Linked DNA regions of Homo sapiens: region 2 is linked to region 1. The links are contacts of gene promoters, found by promoter capture Hi-C in blood cells and fetal thymus (Javierre and others, 2016). All regions are on one chromosome and are shown on one strand. The core of a region is centred on a gene start or on the middle of the fragment in contact, and the rest is flanking DNA. Distances in the headings are between cores, read along the strand shown.

Region 1 (5,029 bases), core at 148-2,647:
CTCAAAATCCAGGCAACCCTGGAGCAATGCAGCCTTGAATTCCAGGGGTCTCTTATATGCACACTTTTTCCAAACAAACGGGGATCAAAACTATAGCATTTGTGAGAAACAAGACTTGCGTATATGAACGGCAGACTTTTCCTATATGCAGACCCAGCAGAGACAACGTCAGGGCTGGAGTACGAGCAAGTGTTGGTACATGTAGGGGGTACTGAAACGAATTGCCTGTGTATCCCAAGAAACAACTGTACTGAGAGATCATATTTTCTAGGGGTTTATTTTTGGTTTTGTTTTTATTTTAGGTTAAAGCTTTGGATAGAATACCCAGTGTCTCCTTGTCCATCTGAAGAACATGCTGCTATGTGGAAGCACATCCTTGAGATCCACAAGGAGACACTGGGCAAGAAGACAAGGATGCCCCACTGTGCAGAGGTCCCCCTAATAAATGCTCTATGAACACCCTGGTGTTTAGTGCTTCTTTCCTTGGAATTCCAGCAGGTCTGGACAGTTTGGTGCACTCCCTTGAGGGAATTCCCCTGGGCTGCTTGGGGTCCACTCCAGCCTCAGGTGTAGCTAGAGGACGCAGCCTCCCACCTTGGTCTGGAGCCCTGAGCCCCTCACTGTCATTGCAGATCCCGGGGTTCCTCTCCCGGCTCCACTCAGTGGTGGAAACCTCCACCCTAATGAGCCCTTGATGGTCCCGGGACCCTGTGGCATCTCACCTCTGGCCTCTGTTCTTTCTTGTGAGTCCGTCTACACTTGGGGTTTCCACATGTCTTTTTCTGCTCATGACCTTGATACTCTGGGTATTTCAGAAATGCTACACATACGTTTCTCCATTACGGTCAGATGTGACATCTTGAGTGGACTCATCAATCACCTACAGAATGTGGAGTCCAACAGCAAGATCCTCTCACGTCCCAAAGCCTCAGGTCTTACCCTGGTCTGGAAATCAAGCACAAATGAGCCCCTCCCAATGTCCCAGGCACCACTGACCCCACAACCACTGTGACGAGTGGGATTCATGACAACAATCTGCAAAGGAAGAAACTGAGGCTCAGTGATGGGACATTACAAACCAAGGTCACGTAGGCAGCGGATGATAACCAGTCATCAAATAAATATCAACTCCCTCCCCCACTCCCCAAATCAAAGCTCAAACATAAGTCATTGTTCCCAAAATGTTGACCAGGAATTGAGGTGCAGAGGGACGGCTAAGGACGCAATGGGCACCGAGGAGGCAGGAAAGACTCAGAGGTTTCTTCCCGGGGGGGAGGGAGTGGACGCTGGAGCAAAAACATTTAAAAAGGGGAAGTTAAGAGGGGACTATTTGGTTGAAAGAAAACCCACAATCCAGTGTCAAGAAAGAAGTCAACTTTTCTTCCCCTACTTCCCTGCATTTCTCCTCTGTGCTCACTGCCACACACAGCTCAACCTGGACAGCACAGCCAGAGGCGAGATGCTTCTCTGCTGATCTGAGTCTGCCTGCAGCATGGACCTGGGTCTTCCCTGAAGCATCTCCAGGGCTGGAGGGACGACTGCCATGGTAAGGACCCCACAACGCTGTGCTGATGGATGGGCTGAAGGAGGGAGGGTGACCATGTGGGAAGCTGTGAGAAGGAAGGGGAAGCCACTGCTACCCTCATCAGGAAGGGCAGACACAAGAAGCACCAGTTCTATTTGCTGCTACATCCCGGCTCTCGGTGAGACGAGGAGAAACCAGACAGACAGTGGCTGGGGGTCAGGAAAGACCCCATTACAGTCTGAAATGTCTGCAGAGGGCCCAGTGCCTGCCCCCACCTCAGCTCTAAAAGAATGAGAGTCAGGCTCCTGGGAGGGCAGTTCCGCTTCTTGTGTGGCTGCAGATGACAACACCCCATGAGAAGGACCCAGCCTCTGAGTGTCCACACAGGGTGGGAAGGAGGGGAGGCTATTTCTCTCTGTGTGTCTCTGTCCCGCCAGCACCGAGGGCTCATCCATCCGCAGAGCAGGGCAGTGGGAGGAGACGCCATGACCCCCATCGTCACAGTCCTGATCTGTCTCGGTGAGATTTGAAGAGAGAGGGGAGCTTCTAACCTAGGAGGGACCTCACCCCACAGCCAAACTCTGGTCCCTAAGGAGACCCCAGGGGCTCACAAAGATCCCAGGGAGGGGAGGACCTGCTCAGGCTTCAGGGGGCAAATCCCTCACAGGGAACTCTCTTCCAGGGCTGAGTCTGGGCCCCAGGACCCGCGTGCAGACAGGTGAGTCTGTCCCCAGCTCTCCCAGGTCCCTCCTCCTCACTGGGGACAAGGGGCCACCTCCGTGCAGCTGGGGATGGGGATTAGAAGTTCTGGACTGACTGATGGGGGCATCTGGAGGGTCCTGGGCTGAGAGCTGAGATCTGTTGGGTGGGAAATGACTTCGAATCTGACCTTTGATTTCCTTCCAGGGACCATCCCCAAGCCCACCCTGTGGGCTGAGCCAGACTCTGTGATCACCCAGGGGAGTCCCGTCACCCTCAGTTGTCAGGGGAGCCTTGAAGCCCAGGAGTACCGTCTATATAGGGAGAAAAAATCAGCATCTTGGATTACACGGATACGACCAGAGCTTGTGAAGAACGGCCAGTTCCACATCCCATCCATCACCTGGGAACACACAGGGCGATATGGCTGTCAGTATTACAGCCGCGCTCGGTGGTCTGAGCTCAGTGACCCCCTGGTGCTGGTGATGACAGGTGAGAGGACACTCAGGGATCCCAGCCCCAGGCTCTGCCCTCAGGAAGGAGGCTCTCAGGGGTGTCTCCCTCTCACAGCCCAGCCCTGGGGATGATGTGGGAGGTGGGAGCCCCATTTAACACGATGCCTCCTTCTCTCCTAGGAGCCTACCCAAAACCCACCCTCTCAGCCCAGCCCAGCCCTGTGGTGACCTCAGGAGGAAGGGTGACCCTCCAGTGTGAGTCACAGGTGGCATTTGGCGGCTTCATTCTGTGTAAGGAAGGAGAAGATGAACACCCACAATGCCTGAACTCCCAGCCCCATGCCCGTGGGTCGTCCCGCGCCATCTTCTCCGTGGGCCCCGTGAGCCCGAATCGCAGGTGGTCGCACAGGTGCTATGGTTATGACTTGAACTCTCCCTATGTGTGGTCTTCACCCAGTGATCTCCTGGAGCTCCTGGTCCCAGGTGAGAAATTCACAGCATTGTCTGGAGTTCCCTGAGTCTCCCTGAGTCTCCAGGCAGGTGGGGAGCAGCCGTGTCTCAGGGCAGTTCCAGGTGGGATGATGTTGGGGCGAGAGGGCTCAGGGGTCCTGGGGCCAGAGACACAGGAAGATCAGCAGTGGTGAGGCACCGGGGGAGAGGGAGGGTTTGTGGGGAAGCCTGAGGGTCGGCTCCTGGAAACCATGAGCACCTTTTCCCAGGTGTTTCTAAGAAGCCATCACTCTCAGTGCAGCCGGGTCCTGTCATGGCCCCTGGGGAAAGCCTGACCCTCCAGTGTGTCTCTGATGTCGGCTATGACAGATTTGTTCTGTACAAGGAGGGGGAACGTGACCTTCGCCAGCTCCCTGGCCGGCAGCCCCAGGCTGGGCTCTCCCAGGCCAACTTCACCCTGGGCCCTGTGAGCCGCTCCTACGGGGGCCAGTACAGATGCTACGGTGCACACAACCTCTCCTCTGAGTGCTCGGCCCCCAGCGACCCCCTGGACATCCTGATCACAGGTGAGGAGCCCAGCGGGTTCAGTCAGGGACCCAGACTCTGCACAGGCCCTGCCGGGGGAATCCAATTAGTGATGGCCAGGATGAGGCGGGGGGTGGTCCCAAGGGAGGGAGAGACAGAGAGAGAGACAGGGGATGGGTGGGGAGGGGAAGACTCAGAGAAAACAGAGACAGAGGCTCCTAGAGAGGCCTGGGGAGGTCTCAGCTCAGAGCAAGGTGGGGCAGCCCCTCACCCATCCTTCTTCTCTCCAGGACAGATCCGTGGCACACCCTTCATCTCAGTGCAGCCAGGCCCCACAGTGGCCTCAGGAGAGAACGTGACCCTGCTGTGTCAGTCATGGCGGCAGTTCCACACTTTCCTTCTGACCAAGGCGGGAGCAGCTGATGCCCCACTCCGTCTAAGATCAATACACGAATATCCTAAGTACCAGGCTGAATTCCCCATGAGTCCTGTGACCTCAGCCCACGCGGGGACCTACAGGTGCTACGGCTCACTCAACTCCGACCCCTACCTGCTGTCTCACCCCAGTGAGCCCCTGGAGCTCGTGGTCTCAGGTGGGGGCCTTGACCCTGTCCTCTCTGAGCTCAAAGGCTCAGCTCAGGCCCTGCCCCCCAGGAGAGCTCTGGGCTGGGATGGAGTGAGCGGGGGTCTGAGCGGGGCTCAGCCAGTGGGAGACTCACCCTCAGAGGGAAGGAGGACAACAGGCCCTCCCAGGCCTGCGCACACTCAGCGGCATCGCCAGCATCATGGACAGGAGAGGCGGGTGGAGGGAGGGGCCTGGGGAGGCCACAGGGCCCATGTAGAGAAATTTGGTTTGAGGTGGAGACTTCAGGAAAGCCCCAGCTCCTCACCCTCCTCTCATTCTTTCACCCAGGACCCTCCATGGGTTCCAGCCCCCCACCCACCGGTCCCATCTCCACACCTGGTGAGTCCCTGAGGCCTCTGGCTCGAAGGGAGCGCAGCGACCCCCAGGGCAGCTTTGAGTGTCCAGGAGGATCCCATTCCCTTCAGGGACTCAATCAAGGGCTTCTGTCCAGGGAGCTGGGCAGAGCCAGAGGAGGGGCCACAGGGTCCCCAGGGCTCTGAGGCTGGGCTGGTGAGGGGTGGGGGGTCAAGGCAGAGAGAAATGTTGGGGCCCAGCCTGGGGGAGGAGCAGCCGGGCTGATGTGGGGAGCAGGGCAGCCCCAGCCCTCACCTCCCCGTCCTGACCCAGCAGGCCCTGAGGACCAGCCCCTCACCCCCACTGGGTCGGATCCCCAAAGTGGTGAGTGAGGGGCTCTGAGTGGGAGGTGGGCGGGGTCCCGGGGAGGCAGGGGTGGGTTCTGTCCTAGGTTCA
Region 2 (5,030 bases), core at 2,147-4,646, 43 kb before region 1:
CCTAAATTGTATATACTTATTGTGTAAAGTATGTAGTTTTGAAATATATATACTTGTCTGTTGGGCAAATCAATCTAATTAACATATACATTACTTTCCATATTTCTAATTTTTGTGTGGTAAGAACCCTTAAAATCTACTTTTATAGTGATTTTTAAGGATATAATACACTGTTATGTCTTCCGAGATGGTGAAAATACCAAAATGGTGTGTAGAGATTCATTCTGCATTCTTGTATCCAAGAAAGAACATGGGAGGTGATATGGTTTGGCTGTGTCCCCACCCAAATCTCATCTTGAATTGTAGCTCCCATAATTCCCACGTGCTGTGGGAGCCGGTGGGAGATAACTGAATCATGGAGGCAGTTTCTCCCATTCTGTTCTTGTGGTCGTGAATAAGTCTCAGAAGAGCTGATGATTTTATAAGGGGTTTCCCCTTTTGCTTGGCTCTCATTTCCTCTGTACCTGCCACCACGTGAGATGTTGCTTTCACCTTCCACCATGATTGTGAGGCCTCTGCAGCCATGTGGAACTGTGAGTCAATTAAATCTCTTTTTCTTATAAATTACCTGGTCTCGGGTATGTCTTTATCAGCAGCCTGAAAATGGACTAATACAGGAGTTGAATATGAAAGTGAAGGAAATCTCAGATACTGCTAAAAAGAAGGCAGGCAGCAGCTCATGCAGCAAGACCTGGCAGAAAACCATGAGTGAACTTCCAGTGCCTGAGAGGGAAGTTATGAGACCACATGATACCCATTCTCAGTGGGGAGCCAGGCAATCCAGGCCACTGGGGAGCTCTTTGACCGACCTAAGCCCTGGATCTGACTTAGGGAACAGCGGGAGGACTGTGAAAAGGAAGGGCCCAGGGAAGTGCTCCATGTGTGCTCCCAGACCTGGATGCTGATAGAAAGAGGCCATTCCTGATCCTAACCCTTAGTGGGCAGTGCAAGAACTTGACATCGGCCCGGCGCGGTGGCTCACGCCTGTAATCCCAGCACTTTGGGAGGCCGAGGCAGGCGGATCACGAGGTCAGGAGATCGAGACCATCCTGACTAACACGGTGAAACCCCGTCTCTACTAAAAATACAAAAAATTAGCTGGGCGTGGTGGCTCATGCTTGTAATCCCAGCACTTTGGGAGGCCGAGGCAGGCGGATCACGAGGTCAGGAGTTCAAGACCATCCTGGCTAACACGGTGAAACCCCGTCTCTACTAAAAATACAAAAAATTAGCCGGGCACGGTGGTGGGTGCCTGTAGTCCCAGCTACTCGGGAGGCTGAGGCAGGAGAATGGCACGAACCTGGGAGGCGAAGCTTGCAGTGAGCTGAGATCACGCCACTGCACTCCAGCCTGGGCGACAGAGCGAGACTCCGTCTCAAAAAAAAAAAAAAGAACTTGACATCAAACATGGGTGAGGGTCACTACTTCGGAGAGTCTTGGGCCAGAGATTGACAATCTGGGCTCAAGTAGAAGACAGGTCCCCATGGACAGAACTGAGAGGCAATTGTGGCATGGGCTCCAGACACCAAGCACTGGCGTTGGACACCTCTCTTTGACAGAACCGAGGGGGAAAAGTTGTAGCCTGAGAGGCATGGATTTTACCCAGGAGGCAAGATCTGTGGCCTGGGGTAGTTGAGTGGTCTGACATCAAACCGCATGTGATTTGACGGTCTGAAATTGCTTCCAGCATTGGGCCACAGGGAGGAGCTCTGCTGGGTTGGGAGCATTAGATTAAAGTGAGTCCCACTGTCATTTTCTAGGCTTGGAACCCAACGTGCCCCTCTGGGGAACTCTGCTGTAACTTTGGCATAATAGTCATTGCCCTACTCAGTGCTTGAGTGTCTCTCCAGGGACCTGAGAACCACACATGTAGCCTCTGTGGGGACGGAGCCTGTGCCTAGCATTGGGCCTGAGTACAGGCTTGCCTGGACCAGCCACACTTACCTTCATTTCCCTGCGTTGGAGGCAGAGTACTGATCAAGACCACTGAGTTTTCCACAACCCAACCCATCACTTAGGATACCTGAATGCTTCTGGTTAACAAAGGTCAAGCATAAAGCCCACTGCCAGCGCTACAACTGGCTCTCACCAGCAATTGCCACCTACTGGCCTGGAGGTCAAACCATACAGCACATTACAACGTCTCCTGAAACAAGTGACAGTGATTGGGGAAGAGACAAGTTTCACACAAACTCTGCCACCACCATTGCCCACGCCACCCCAGCTACACCTCTCCTTTGCAGAACCGCTTGAGGAAAGGCTAAACCTTTCTGCAAAGGAGAGGTGTCTAATTCCAGTGCTCGGGGTCTGGAGCCCATGCCACACTTGCCCCTCAGTTCTGTCTGTGGGGACCTGTCCCCTACTTGAGACCAGATTGCCAAGGAGGAGGCCTTAAGTTAACTTGCCTGCTCTGTCACCTACCTGAGCCTGGGAAGGTTGAGGCTGCAGTGATCCAAGATCGTGCCACTGCACTCCACCCTGGGTGACAAAGTGAGACCCTGTCTCAAAAAACAAAAACAAAAAAACTGCTCTGACCTTTTCAAAAGTATCAAGGTCAAGAACAAAGATAAACAAAGGCACCACGCAGTGGAGTAAGAGCCTGTCTATTGCCTATTGCTCTCAAGCGCCATCTACTGGATTACAGCCACACTACAACACCAAAAATCACTTTACTAAATTCTACCGCCTGGAAAACCAAGAGCAAGAATTCAGCAAAGACCCTGTACAGAGCCTTAGTCCCCTGAAAACTTCCAGAAATAAAGCCAACAGACTATACTCAATTTATACCCTTGCAATGAAAGGAATAGCAACCCTCCCAGATGAGAAAAAAAATCAGGGAAATAACTCCTATTATCTCCAAACCAGTCCACGAGCTCCCCAGAAATTGTTCTTAATCAGTATGAATTGTCTGAAATGACAAACGTAGAATTTGGAATCTGGATGGCAAGGAAGGTCATTCAAATCAAGAGCAAAGTTGAAATTCAATCCAAGGAAGCCAAGCAATCCAGTAAAATGATTAATGACATGAACGATTAAATTTTAAGAAACACCCAAACTGAACTTCTCGAGCTGAAAAATTCATGACACGAATTTCATAATACGATGAGAAGCATTAACAGCAGAATAGACCAAGCTGAGGAAAAGAATTTCAAAGCTTGAAGACTTGTTTGAATCAAATCAGTCAAATATAAGGAAAAAATATTTTTAAAAGTGAACAAAATCTCTGAGAAATATGATATTATCTAAAGACACCAAATGTATGACTTGTCAGCATTCCTGAAAGGGGAAGAGAGAATAAGCAACTTGGAAAATATATTTGAGGATATAGTCCATGAATATTTTCCTAAACTCGCTAGAGAGTTTGACACACAAATCCAAGAAACATAGAGACGCCCAGCCAGATAACGGTCTAGATTTGAGGGTATGGTGAAAAAGATGCTTAGAAAATGTCAGAAGTGAGACACAATGGCTCATTTGCTTGTGTCTTGCATTCTCCACCTTGCAATTCTGTACTGATGGCTGTACTATCAGCAGGATCCACTCGTTATTATATTCACTATCAACCTTCAGCCTAAGGGTTTTGGCAGCCATTGATGTTTATTGCTTGTATACTCAACGCACAGGTTATCCAAGCTTTGCAGGGTTAACTATTATTATGCAAAAACTCTACAGCTATTCTTAGGCAAAAACATTACTATAGCTATTACTATACTTATTATTATGTAGAAACATTCTACAGAAAAGAATGTTTCCTGTGTAACACTTCAGATAAACAAAAGAGATCTTGCTTCTTGCCTTCATTTCCACGTTTTTGATGTGGAGATTTTGTTCTTTTCCCATTCCTCATATTTGAGGGGTTTTTTGTTTTTTAATTTTGTTTTTAACAGTAGTAAACTGATAGGCTTTGAACATATTCATTAGTTTTAATACACTACCTATATTATTTGATTCTATAAATATTCCACATTTTGCCATTGGGAACTTTTCATGATAGACTTTATGTTCAGGTAACATGAATCTGATGGTATGTGGTGATGTCTTTGCTTTCTTGCATGATAAGAAGTTCTGACTTCATCTCCTGTATTTTCTCTCCGAATGTGGAGTCAGCTATTTCTCTAGGATGAAATTTAGAATTTTTGACCATACATATTTTAAGAATTAAACATTTTTGAGGGTGTATTCACTTATGTTTTACTATATATAGTCAAAATTATATAATAATATTAACTATATGTCACTACATAATATATAATTTGATTTAAAAGTATACATTTATTATATAATATGATAAATAATATATGCATTATAAAATATATGGTCAAGTAATTTTGCTTACATTCTAGTACAAATAATTCTTCCTTGTTTAGTAATGCCCTAATTTGATAGGAACTCAATTCTATTTCCTTTTTTAAGGTATTATCTTTAGATTTATAAGTTATATTTAAAAATATTTTATAGTATAGACATTCAGGAATATGTTTATATATGTATATATATATATTTTTAAACGGAGTCTTGCTCGTCGCCCAGGCTAGAATGCTGTGGGTGGCAAGCCACCCAGGTGCCGAGGCAAGAGACAGAGGACACGAGCTGTTCCAGTATAATAAAATATAAAACAAGAATAGTTATACCAGATATAGATCTTAGTTATGATTATATATGAATATCATTAATCATTTGTTTGTAGCAGTTACCCTTTATCCCAATATTATAATAATCCTCCCTCTGTAATCATAACCTAGGAAAAGCCAGGCCATACAGAGATAGGAGCTGAGGGGACACAGTGAGAAGTGACCAGAAGACAAGAGTGCGAGCCCTCTGTCATGCCCGGACAGGGCCACCAGAGGGCTCCTTGGTCTAGCGGTGACGCCAGCGTCTGGGAAGACGTCCGTTGCCAAGCGGACCGTGGTCTAGCGGTAGCGTAAGTGGCAAGGAACAACACCCGCTACTTAGCAGACTGGGGAAGGGAGTCTCCCTTTCCCCGGGGGAGTTTAGAGAAGACTCTGCTCCTCCACCTCTTGTGGAGGGCC

Evidence for each region. The method cuts DNA at HindIII sites, captures the fragments that hold promoters and counts their contacts. A CHiCAGO score of 5 or more calls a contact.
Region 2: a contact is called between a fragment that was not itself captured here and the fragment with the promoter of LILRB2 in region 1, in 1 of 17 cell types (M0 macrophages). The highest score is 5.3, in M0 macrophages.

The regions. Positions count from the first base shown.
Region 1 is chr19:54,277,478-54,282,506 of GRCh38, reverse strand. It overlaps LILRB2 (leukocyte immunoglobulin like receptor B2), which reads left to right and starts at 1,397. Exons shown (of 14, transcript NM_001080978.4): 1 at 1,397-1,546; 2 at 1,963-2,044; 3 at 2,208-2,243; 4 at 2,432-2,716; 5 at 2,860-3,162; 6 at 3,399-3,695; 7 at 3,945-4,247; 8 at 4,568-4,618; 9 at 4,910-4,957. The coding sequence starts at 2,011. MIR4752 (microRNA 4752) reads right to left here and starts at 398; the gene lies at 327-398. RefSeq lists an enhancer at 2,284-3,483. The HindIII fragment of the contact is 13,229 bases long and covers 312-5,029 here.
Region 2 is chr19:54,322,898-54,327,927 of GRCh38, reverse strand. No RefSeq gene overlaps it. Among named protein-coding and RNA genes, the nearest start is that of LILRA5, 12 kb to the right of the region's middle. RefSeq lists a silencer at 2,457-2,751. The HindIII fragment of the contact is 479 bases long and covers 3,157-3,635 here.